2 separate regions of the Homo sapiens genome follow, and region 1 is linked to region 2. Evidence: promoter capture Hi-C in human tissues and cell types (Jung and others, 2019). All regions are on one chromosome and are shown on one strand. Each heading gives the region's core, a stretch centred on a gene start or on the middle of the fragment in contact. The rest is flanking DNA. Distances are from core to core; before and after follow the strand shown.

Region 1 (4,060 bases), core at 1,408-3,907, 350 kb after region 2:
TTTCCCGAGCCCTTGCTTCCCATCCAGTCCCCTCACTTATACAGCTTAGGCAACTGCCTTGTTTCTGGCAAGGCCTGATAGCTTCTGTCCAGTGCAAAGGGTACATGAGTGGGTCTTGTTCCTAACAGGTCGCTTCTAGAGGGTGCTGCCAAGCCTTGCCCATGTCGGCTCCTACCAGCATTCCTGGGACACTTACCTCTAGACTGTCACTACCATCTGCCTCCCGGTCTATGATGTCAAAAATGTCCTCATGGATCTTTTCTCCCTGTACAGACATAGGGGAGGGTCAGAGTGGGACAGAACCATGGGAGGTCTCTGACCTCAGAAAAGCCACCCTCAATTCTCCTTATAACACCCAGAAGTCCTTTTATGGAGCATAGCTACCTGCTTTTATCTACATTGAGAGGCAGTACGGTGCAGTGGTTACAAGAAAGCACTCTACACCCAGACTACCTGGGTTCATACATTAGCTCTATTTTTTTTTGCGATGGAGTCTCTCTCTTTCTCCCAGGCTGGAGTGCAGTGGCGCGATCTTGGCTCATGGCAACCTCCGTCTCCTGGGTTCAAGCGATTCTCCTGCCTCAGCCTCCCCAGTAGCTGGGATTATAGGCGCATGCCACCATGCCCAGCTATTTTTTGTATTTTTAGTAGAATCAGAGTTTCACCATGTTGGCTAGGCTGGTCTTGAACTCCTGACCTCAGGTGATCTGCCTGCCTTGGCCTCCCAAAGTGCTAGGATTACAGGCGTGAGCCACCACGCCTGGCCCATTAACTCTACTTCTATGTAGCTCTGGGCAGCTTATTTAATTGCTCTATGCCTCAGTTTCCTCATCTGTACAATGAAGGTAATAATACAGGTCCATATACCCTTATCTAACAGTGTTGGGGCCAGTTATGTTTTGGAATTCAAAATATTTCAGATTTTAGAAAGGTATTATGGTATATATACTATATATTAAATAAAATTCCAGTGGGAATTTTTATTTAATCAGAAGCACGTTAATCAAATATATTAGTATTTCTGTAATAAAAGGCATCACTAATGACAGTAAGTTGGATAGAAACTATAGGGCCGGGCATGGCGGTTCACGCCTGCAATCCCAGCACTTTGGGAGGCCGAGGCAGGTGGATCACGAGGTCAGGAGATCAAGACCACCCTGGCTAACACAGTAAAACCCCGTCTCTACTAAAAATACAAAAATTAGCCAGGCGTGATGGCAAGCACCTGTAATCCCAGCTACTCGGGAGGCTGAGGCAGGAGAATCGCTTGAACCCGGGCAGCAGAGGTTGCAGTGAGCTGAGAGCGTGCCACTGCACTCCAGCCTGGGCGACAGAGTGAGACTCCGTCTCAAAAAAAATAAATAAATAAAAATTAAAAAAAAGAAACTATAAAACAGCCTGTCTTCATTGAAATTTGTTTTTGCTGATAAACTAGTTATGAAATGTCCTTTGGTTTCATGGCTTTCTGGATCCTGGAAAGGCAGATAAGGGACTGTGGACCTGTAGTACTTACTTCTAGGGTTGTTGGGAGATTTAGAAAAATTAATATATGTAAAGCACTTAGAATGACCTGGCACACTGCATTAGCTAGTGTAGGCGCTTGACAATATTACATAGTCCACTCCCTGCAGCCAGGTCTCTCCCTCCAGCATTCATACATCCCTGATCCGGTTTTCCCTCTCTTCGGGACGTCATAGAGCCTGTCCCTACCCAGCGAGTTGTGGGCCCTGCCAGGGAATAGGAAACGACCTGGGAGAATCCGCTGGCCCAGTTGTTGCCAGCTCCTCCTCCATGTTCCGACAGGTAGATGTTCTCTGGGTTGTAGAGCTTGGCATAGGGGGAGTTGAGGATGGAGTGGATCACCCGGGGTTCCAAGTCCAGCAGCACGGCCCGGGGGATGTAGTGCTCATCGTCTGCCTGTCAAGGGGAGTCCAGGAGGGGGCCCAATCAGCTAGGGCGGCCCAAGTCCGAAGTCCTCCCAACTCTGGCTCCCTCCGGCCCTCCCTCCTCAAGCCAGCCGCCTGGCCCTACTGCCCAGCGGGGTTCCCAGTACCAGGCCACTCCCTTCCCTTCCGCCCCCTTGGGCAACTGCCGCCCCCGGCCAAGTCGCTGGGGGCACCTGGTAGAAAAAGACGTCCTTGCGGTCAGTGCCCTCGGTGGCGAACTCCTCCACGATGCCCTCGGGGCTGATACCATGCTCGGCGCACAGCTGTTTCCAGAACTCGAACCCAACTGGGGGGAAGGGGCGGGCAGGGGAGAAAGAAGATATCTAGGTCCGGGCAGGTTCCAATCAGGAGCCGGGGGACTGGGCGCCTGCGTCCAGGGATAAGAAGTCAAGCCGCAGGACTCTCCCGTGTCTGAGGAAAGGACTGTACGCCAGGGACTGGGCAGGGGAGGGCCCCTCGGGGTTGGGCAAGTGGACACTGGGTCAGGGATGTCTCGCCTTTCAGAGAACTACGATTCTGGCAAGGACAGATGGAGTCCAGGATCCCACAGCGAGATCCCATTGACCCTAAGGAACCTGGCTAGCTGAGGGGCCGGAGTTTCGCTCACTCTGATTGCCGCACTGGCCCAACTGTAGGGTGATGATTTCCCTCGGCATCGCTCCTCAGGCACCGGCGTTGCAGCCGCTCCCGCCCGCAACGGCGCCGCACGCCAGCCCGCTCGCCGCAAGACGCAGGCGCCAAACAACCAGCTCCACCCACGAACTTCCTCCGCTCCAATGAGAATCGAGTTCTGGCAATGAATGGCACGTCTTTAAGCACTGGCCTTCGTTCATGCAGATTGCGCGTGCGCGGCTCCGGATGCGGCTCGGCGCCTCCGGATCCGGCTCCGCGCCTCAGTGAGGGCGGGGTACGGCGTCCTCCCTCCCCTCTGGGTGGGCGCCTGCTTGGGCCTGCGCGCAAGCGCGCTGTGGTGCGAAGCCACCTCCCCCGCCGAATCGCGCATCTGCGCAGTTGCTGTTATTGTGACTTGTCGGGCCACGGCCCCGGATGTTGTGGCTGCCGCGGGGAGATGGCTGAGGCCGAAGGGGTTCCCACGACCCCAGGCCCGGCTTCGGGGTCGACTTTCAGGGGCCGCCGAGATGTGTCAGGCTCCTGGGAGCGGGACCAGCAGGTTGAGGCGGCGCAGCGGGCCCTGGTGGAGGTGCTGGGGCCTTACGAGCCTCTGCTGAGTCGGGTGCAGGCAGCCCTGGTGTGGGAGCGGCCAGCTAGGAGCGCTCTGTGGTGCCTGGGGCTGAACGCGGCTTTCTGGTGAGAGAACTGGACCCTCGGAAACCCTCCGAGTCCCGAATTCGTTGGTTCCTCTAGGGCTCTACTTCTCGCCTGCCCTGTTTTCTTCGCTGCACTGGCTCCTTCCTGTACTTGCCTAATTTTGCCTCACCTCCTTCCACTCCATCCCGCCTGCAGGCTTCGGCACCCTAGTTCTTCCCAGGGCCGTCCACCCATCTTCTCTGCCTTACCTGTGCCCGCACCCCCGCCCCGCACATCTGGCGGGAGCTTCTGGTAACATCTTGAGCCGCTCAAGAGTGAGCGAGGGCTCCTCTTTTGAGCCCGACAAAGCTGCGTCCCTTTAAAGCCATCACTTCCTTTCTCTTGTCTGCTCAAGTGCAAGTTCTAGATTGTTTCCAGAGGTTTTAGTAGTTTATTGTTGGAGTAGAGGCGTGAAGTCTTGCAAAGGTATCCATAGGTGTGATTATAAAACAAGCTTGAGCGATTCGCATGAATTAGCATGTTATATATCTAGGAAGGAAGTTTATGAAGTCTAAGCGTCAGTGTGAGCCCCCAAAGCTGAAAATTGAAAGAAAATTACAAGCTTTTAAAGAACAGTTAGGAAATGATGACGGAGATTACACGCGTGTCAAAGCCACCTGTGATTGTAACTCCTCCCTGTTCCAAGGAATTAGAGAGGCATCCTTAGCCATGGTTTATAGGCAAGGAAATTGATGTCTAATACTGTGTGTGAGTTTTCCTGAGCTGGAAAAGTAGCACTGTAAATATGCTTTATTTGTGTGTGTCATGCTCTGTGAAAATGGAACTGCTGCTTCTCTCAGTTGTCA
Region 2 (4,191 bases), core at 1-2,500:
GCCCAAACTATTTTAATGTAATGTAATGTAATTTTCTTGAGACGTAGTCTCGCTGGGTTACCCAGGCTGGAGTGCAGTGGTACGATTTCGGCTCACTGCAACCTCCTCCTCTCGGGTTAAAGTGATTCTCCTGCCTCAGCCTCCCGTGTAGCTGGGATTATATAGGCGTGTGCCACCACGCCTGGCTAATGTTTTTGTGTTTTTAGTAGAAACAGGGTTTCACCATGTTGGCCACGCTGGCCAAATTGTTCTTCTTTTTTTTTTTTTTTTTTTTTTTTGAGACGGAGTCTCGCTCTGTCGCCCAGGCTGGAGTGCAATGGTGCGATCTCGGCTCACTGCAAGCTCCGCCTCCCAGGTTCACGCCATTCTCCTGCCTCAGCCTCCGGAGTAGCTGGGACTACAGGCGTCCGCCACCACGCCCGGCTAATTTTTTGTATTTTTAGTAGAGACGGGATTTCACCGCGTTAGTCAGGATGGTCTCGATATCCTGACCTCGTGATCCGCCCGCCTCGGCCTCCCAAAGTGCTGGGATTACAGGCGTGAGTCACCGCGCTCGGCCTTTTTTTTTTTTTTTTTTTTTTTTTTTAATTGAGACGGAGTCTCGCTCTGTCGCCCAGGCTGGAGTGCAGTGGTGCAATCTCTGCTCACTGCAACCCCGCCTCCCGGGTTCCAGCGATTCTCCTGCCTCAGCCTCCCGGGTAGCTGGGATTACAGGCGCCCGCCACCACGCCCGGCTAATTTTTGTATTTTTAGTAGAGACGGAGTTTCGCTATGTTGGCCAGGCTGGTCTCGAACTCCTGGCCTGAGGTGATCCACCCGCCTCGACCTCCCAAAATGCTGGGATTACAGGCGTGAGCCACCTCCCCCAGCTCCTTGCTTTCTATTTCTACTGGGCAGTGCTGCTCAGTAACCATGCCAGTCCCGTCCCCGCCTCTATGCGCTGGGATTCCGCAGCCAGAATACTTACATCCCTGGGGCCCCAAGGGGCTCACTAAACCACGTGCCTTGTCCAGGTCGCGTTTTTTTGTTTTTGTTTGTTTGTTTTTTTCCTCCTGGTCTTGTCCTTTGTAAAGCCTTAGAACAGTCGTTAAACAACCCAGCAAATATGCAATTCGCGTTTTCAGTAAATTTATCCAAACCGCATTCCATTCCTTACCCTCCTGCTTCTGCGCAGACAAGCGCCCTTGATGACGTTTGTCCCACGTCGCTCTCCGTTCGCTCCCAGGCTTCTCTGCGCGTGCGCCTCCTCACACGCCTGCAGGTATGGCGTTCTGGTGTCAGCGTGACAGTTATGCCCGAGAGGTACGGCGTCACGGCGAGGCACTTGAGACTGCCGGGCCGGCAAGGCGGTTTGGGGAAGAGGGCGCCACGTGTAGGGAGTGCCAACATGGCATTCTGTCCTGGTGTGGAGAGGGCTAGGGCTAGGGCTGGGGTCGGGGCTTATTCTCTCATTCCTCTCTGTTCAGTTCACCACCACCGTGGTCTCCTGCTGTCCCGCGGAGCTGCAGACTGAAGGGAGCAACGGCAAGAAAGAAGTGCTGAGCGGTTTCCAAGTGGTGCTGGAAGACACAGTGCTTTTCCCTGAGGGCGGGGGACAGGTACCAAAACGATCTCTTCCCAGGAAGCCCCCAGTTTCTTTGTGCTCAGGCCGAAATGCTCTCCTGCCCCTTTTTTCTCAGCCATAATGAATTCAGATGAGCTTTAGTTTAATTCATTTTGTTATTCATTTAATGAGTATTTATCAGCAATTGCTTATCTAGACATAACATATGCTAGATATTATTCCAGGCTGTAAGGATAACCGGTGAACAACACAGTGCCTTTATATACGTGGAATGTTTATTGAAGACAACTGTGTGTGCTAGGTATAATAAGTAATAAACAAAAACCAAGTAAAGGGAAAGAGAGTGATGGGATGCTTGTCTAGATGAAGGGTAAGTTATTTCAGTAGAGACCTAAACGAAGTGAGGGGGTGAGTCTTTGCAATTATCTAGTGGTGCTGGGGGGCAGAGGGAGTATTCAGGCAGGTAGAATAGCAGGTGCAAAGGCCCCAAGGAAGGAATTAGCTTCGGGTTTTAGGGACTGAAAAAGATGTTCCTGAAGGAGTTCAGGTGAGATAGACGGGTTACAGTAGTACAGCAGAGAGCATATTTATCAGTGCTGTGATGAGGACTAGGTACAACATGAGCGCAAGTGAGGTACATTGTGAAGATGGAAGAGGAGGATAATAACACCAAAGGTGGGCATTATGAGAAAGGCTTTTCTTTCTTTTCTTTTCTTTCTTTCTTTCTTTTTTTTTTTGAGACAGAATCTCTCGCTGTCATCAGGCTGAAGTGCAGTGGCATGATCTCAGCTCTGCAACCTCCGCCTCCTGGGTTCAAGTGATTCTCCTGTCTCAGCCTCCCAAGTAGCCTGACCAACATGATGAAACCTTGTCTCTACTAAAAATATAAAAATTAACCAGGCATACTGGCAGGCCCCTGTAGTCCCAGCTACTCGGGAGGCTGAGGCATGAGAATCACTTGAACCGGGAGGCTGAAGTTGCAGTGAGCCAAGATTGTGCCACTGCACTTCAGCGTGGGGGACAGAACAAGACTCCGTCTCAAAAGAAAAAAAAAAGGTGTATTAAGGTGTGTGGGCAGCGAACCATGCAGGTTATTTTCTTTCTTTTTTATTTTTAAGAGACAGGATCTTGCTATGTCACCCAGGCTGGAGTGCAGTGGCCTGATCTAGCTCACTGCAGCCTCGAACTCCCAGGCTCAAGCAATCCTCCTGTTTTAGCCTCTCCAGTAGTGGGGACTACAGGCGCACAACCAACATGCTTGGCTGCTTTTTTGTAGAGATGAGGTCTCACTTTATTGCCCAGGCTGATCTTGAGCTCCTGGCCTCAAACAGTCCTCCCACCTTGGCCTCCCAAAGGCTGGGCCTACAGGTGTGAGCCACTGCCCTGGCCTCCACTCAGGTTCTTAAGCAAATAAGTGACATGAGAGAACATGTTCAGTAGACTTGGTATTGAGAGAGTTCCAATTTCATATCAGTCATTATTATGGTGATTTTCCCAGTATGAAGATTTCCCTGATCTGCTGAAGGAAAACCTGTGACCTCAAGTATCCATAGAAGGTCTCATTTTAGACAGCATTTCTTTCAGGAAGTCTTTTTTTGATTCCCCAAGACTGTTAGGTCTCTTTCCTTTGAGGTTCTCTAGCGTCATATACTTTTTCATATTATGGCATGTTATAGGTCATATTGCAATTGTCTGTTTTCCAGCCTCTGTTCTCTAGACTCTTAAGTTCCATGAGGTACCATATCTTGTTTACATTGTATTCTTGGGCTGGCACAGTCTTTTGTAAGCAGTTGGCACTTGAAATGTTTTAAAATGAATGAACTTTTTTTTTTTTTTTTTTTGAGATGGTGTCTTGCTCTGTTGCCAGGCTGGAGCGCAGCGGCGTGATCTCGGCTTACTGCAATCTCCGTCTGCCAGGTTCAAGCAATTCCCCTGCCTCAGTCTCCCGAGTAGCTAGGACTACAGGTGTGCACCACCATGCCCAGTTAATTTTTTGTATTTTAGTAGAGACGGGGTTTCACCATGTTGGCCAGGATGGTCTTGATCTCCTGACCTTGTGATCCGCCCACCTCGGCCTTCCAAAGTACTGGGATTACAGGTGTGAGCCACTGTACCTGGCCCTTTTTTTTTTTTAAATGAGACAGTGTCTCACTCTGTCACCCAGGCTGGAGTGTAGTGGAGCAATCATAGCACACTGCAGTCTCAACCTTTTGGGCTCAAGTGATTCTCCCACCTCAGCCTCCCAAGTAGCAGGGAGTATCATGGCCAGCTAATTTTTTATTTTTCATAGAGGTGGGGTCTCACTGTGTTGTCCAGTCTGATCTCAAGCGATCCTCCTGCCTTGGTCTCCCAAAGTGGTGGGATTACAGGAATAAGCTACCATGCCCAGCCTAAATGAACATTTTTGAATCTAATTCTAATACCACTGCAAGAGGATGGAGTGGAGGGAGGGAGGAAAAATCAGATCATTTTAGAGACTACAAAAGAATCTAGACTAAGGCAAGGAGAGTTGAGGATTAAGATTCTTCGGGTTTTACTAAAATTTTTGTTGCTGTAGTTACAATCTCTTTAATTCTGTTATTCTGAAGATCACAACACATAGGTGTTTAGAATGAAAAGGACTGAGA

The links. The method cuts DNA at HindIII sites, captures the fragments that hold promoters and counts their contacts. A contact is called where the count stands out against the background at its distance.
Region 1: a contact is called between the fragment with the promoter of TUBG1 here and the fragment with the promoter of AARSD1 in region 2, in 2 of the 25 tissues and cell types used here (aorta and mesendoderm cells).

Annotation. Positions count from the first base shown.
Region 1 is chr17:42,608,280-42,612,339 of GRCh38, reverse strand. TUBG1 (tubulin gamma 1) reads right to left here and starts at 2,657. Exons shown (of 11, transcript NM_001070.5): 1 at 2,554-2,657; 2 at 2,120-2,232; 3 at 1,750-1,917; 4 at 197-265. The coding sequence starts at 2,602. It overlaps RETREG3 (reticulophagy regulator family member 3), which reads left to right and starts at 2,966. Exons shown (of 9, transcript NM_178126.4): 1 at 2,966-3,254. The coding sequence starts at 3,016. RefSeq lists an enhancer at 2,975-3,084. The HindIII fragment of the contact is 7,237 bases long and covers 1-4,060 here.
Region 2 is chr17:42,961,513-42,965,703 of GRCh38, reverse strand. AARSD1 (alanyl-tRNA synthetase domain containing 1) reads left to right here and starts at 1,250. Exons shown (of 12, transcript NM_001261434.2): 1 at 1,250-1,302; 2 at 1,467-1,598. The coding sequence starts at 1,264. PTGES3L-AARSD1 (PTGES3L-AARSD1 readthrough) reads left to right here. Exons shown (of 17, transcript NM_001136042.2): 7 at 1,467-1,598. The HindIII fragment of the contact is 19,831 bases long and covers 1-4,191 here.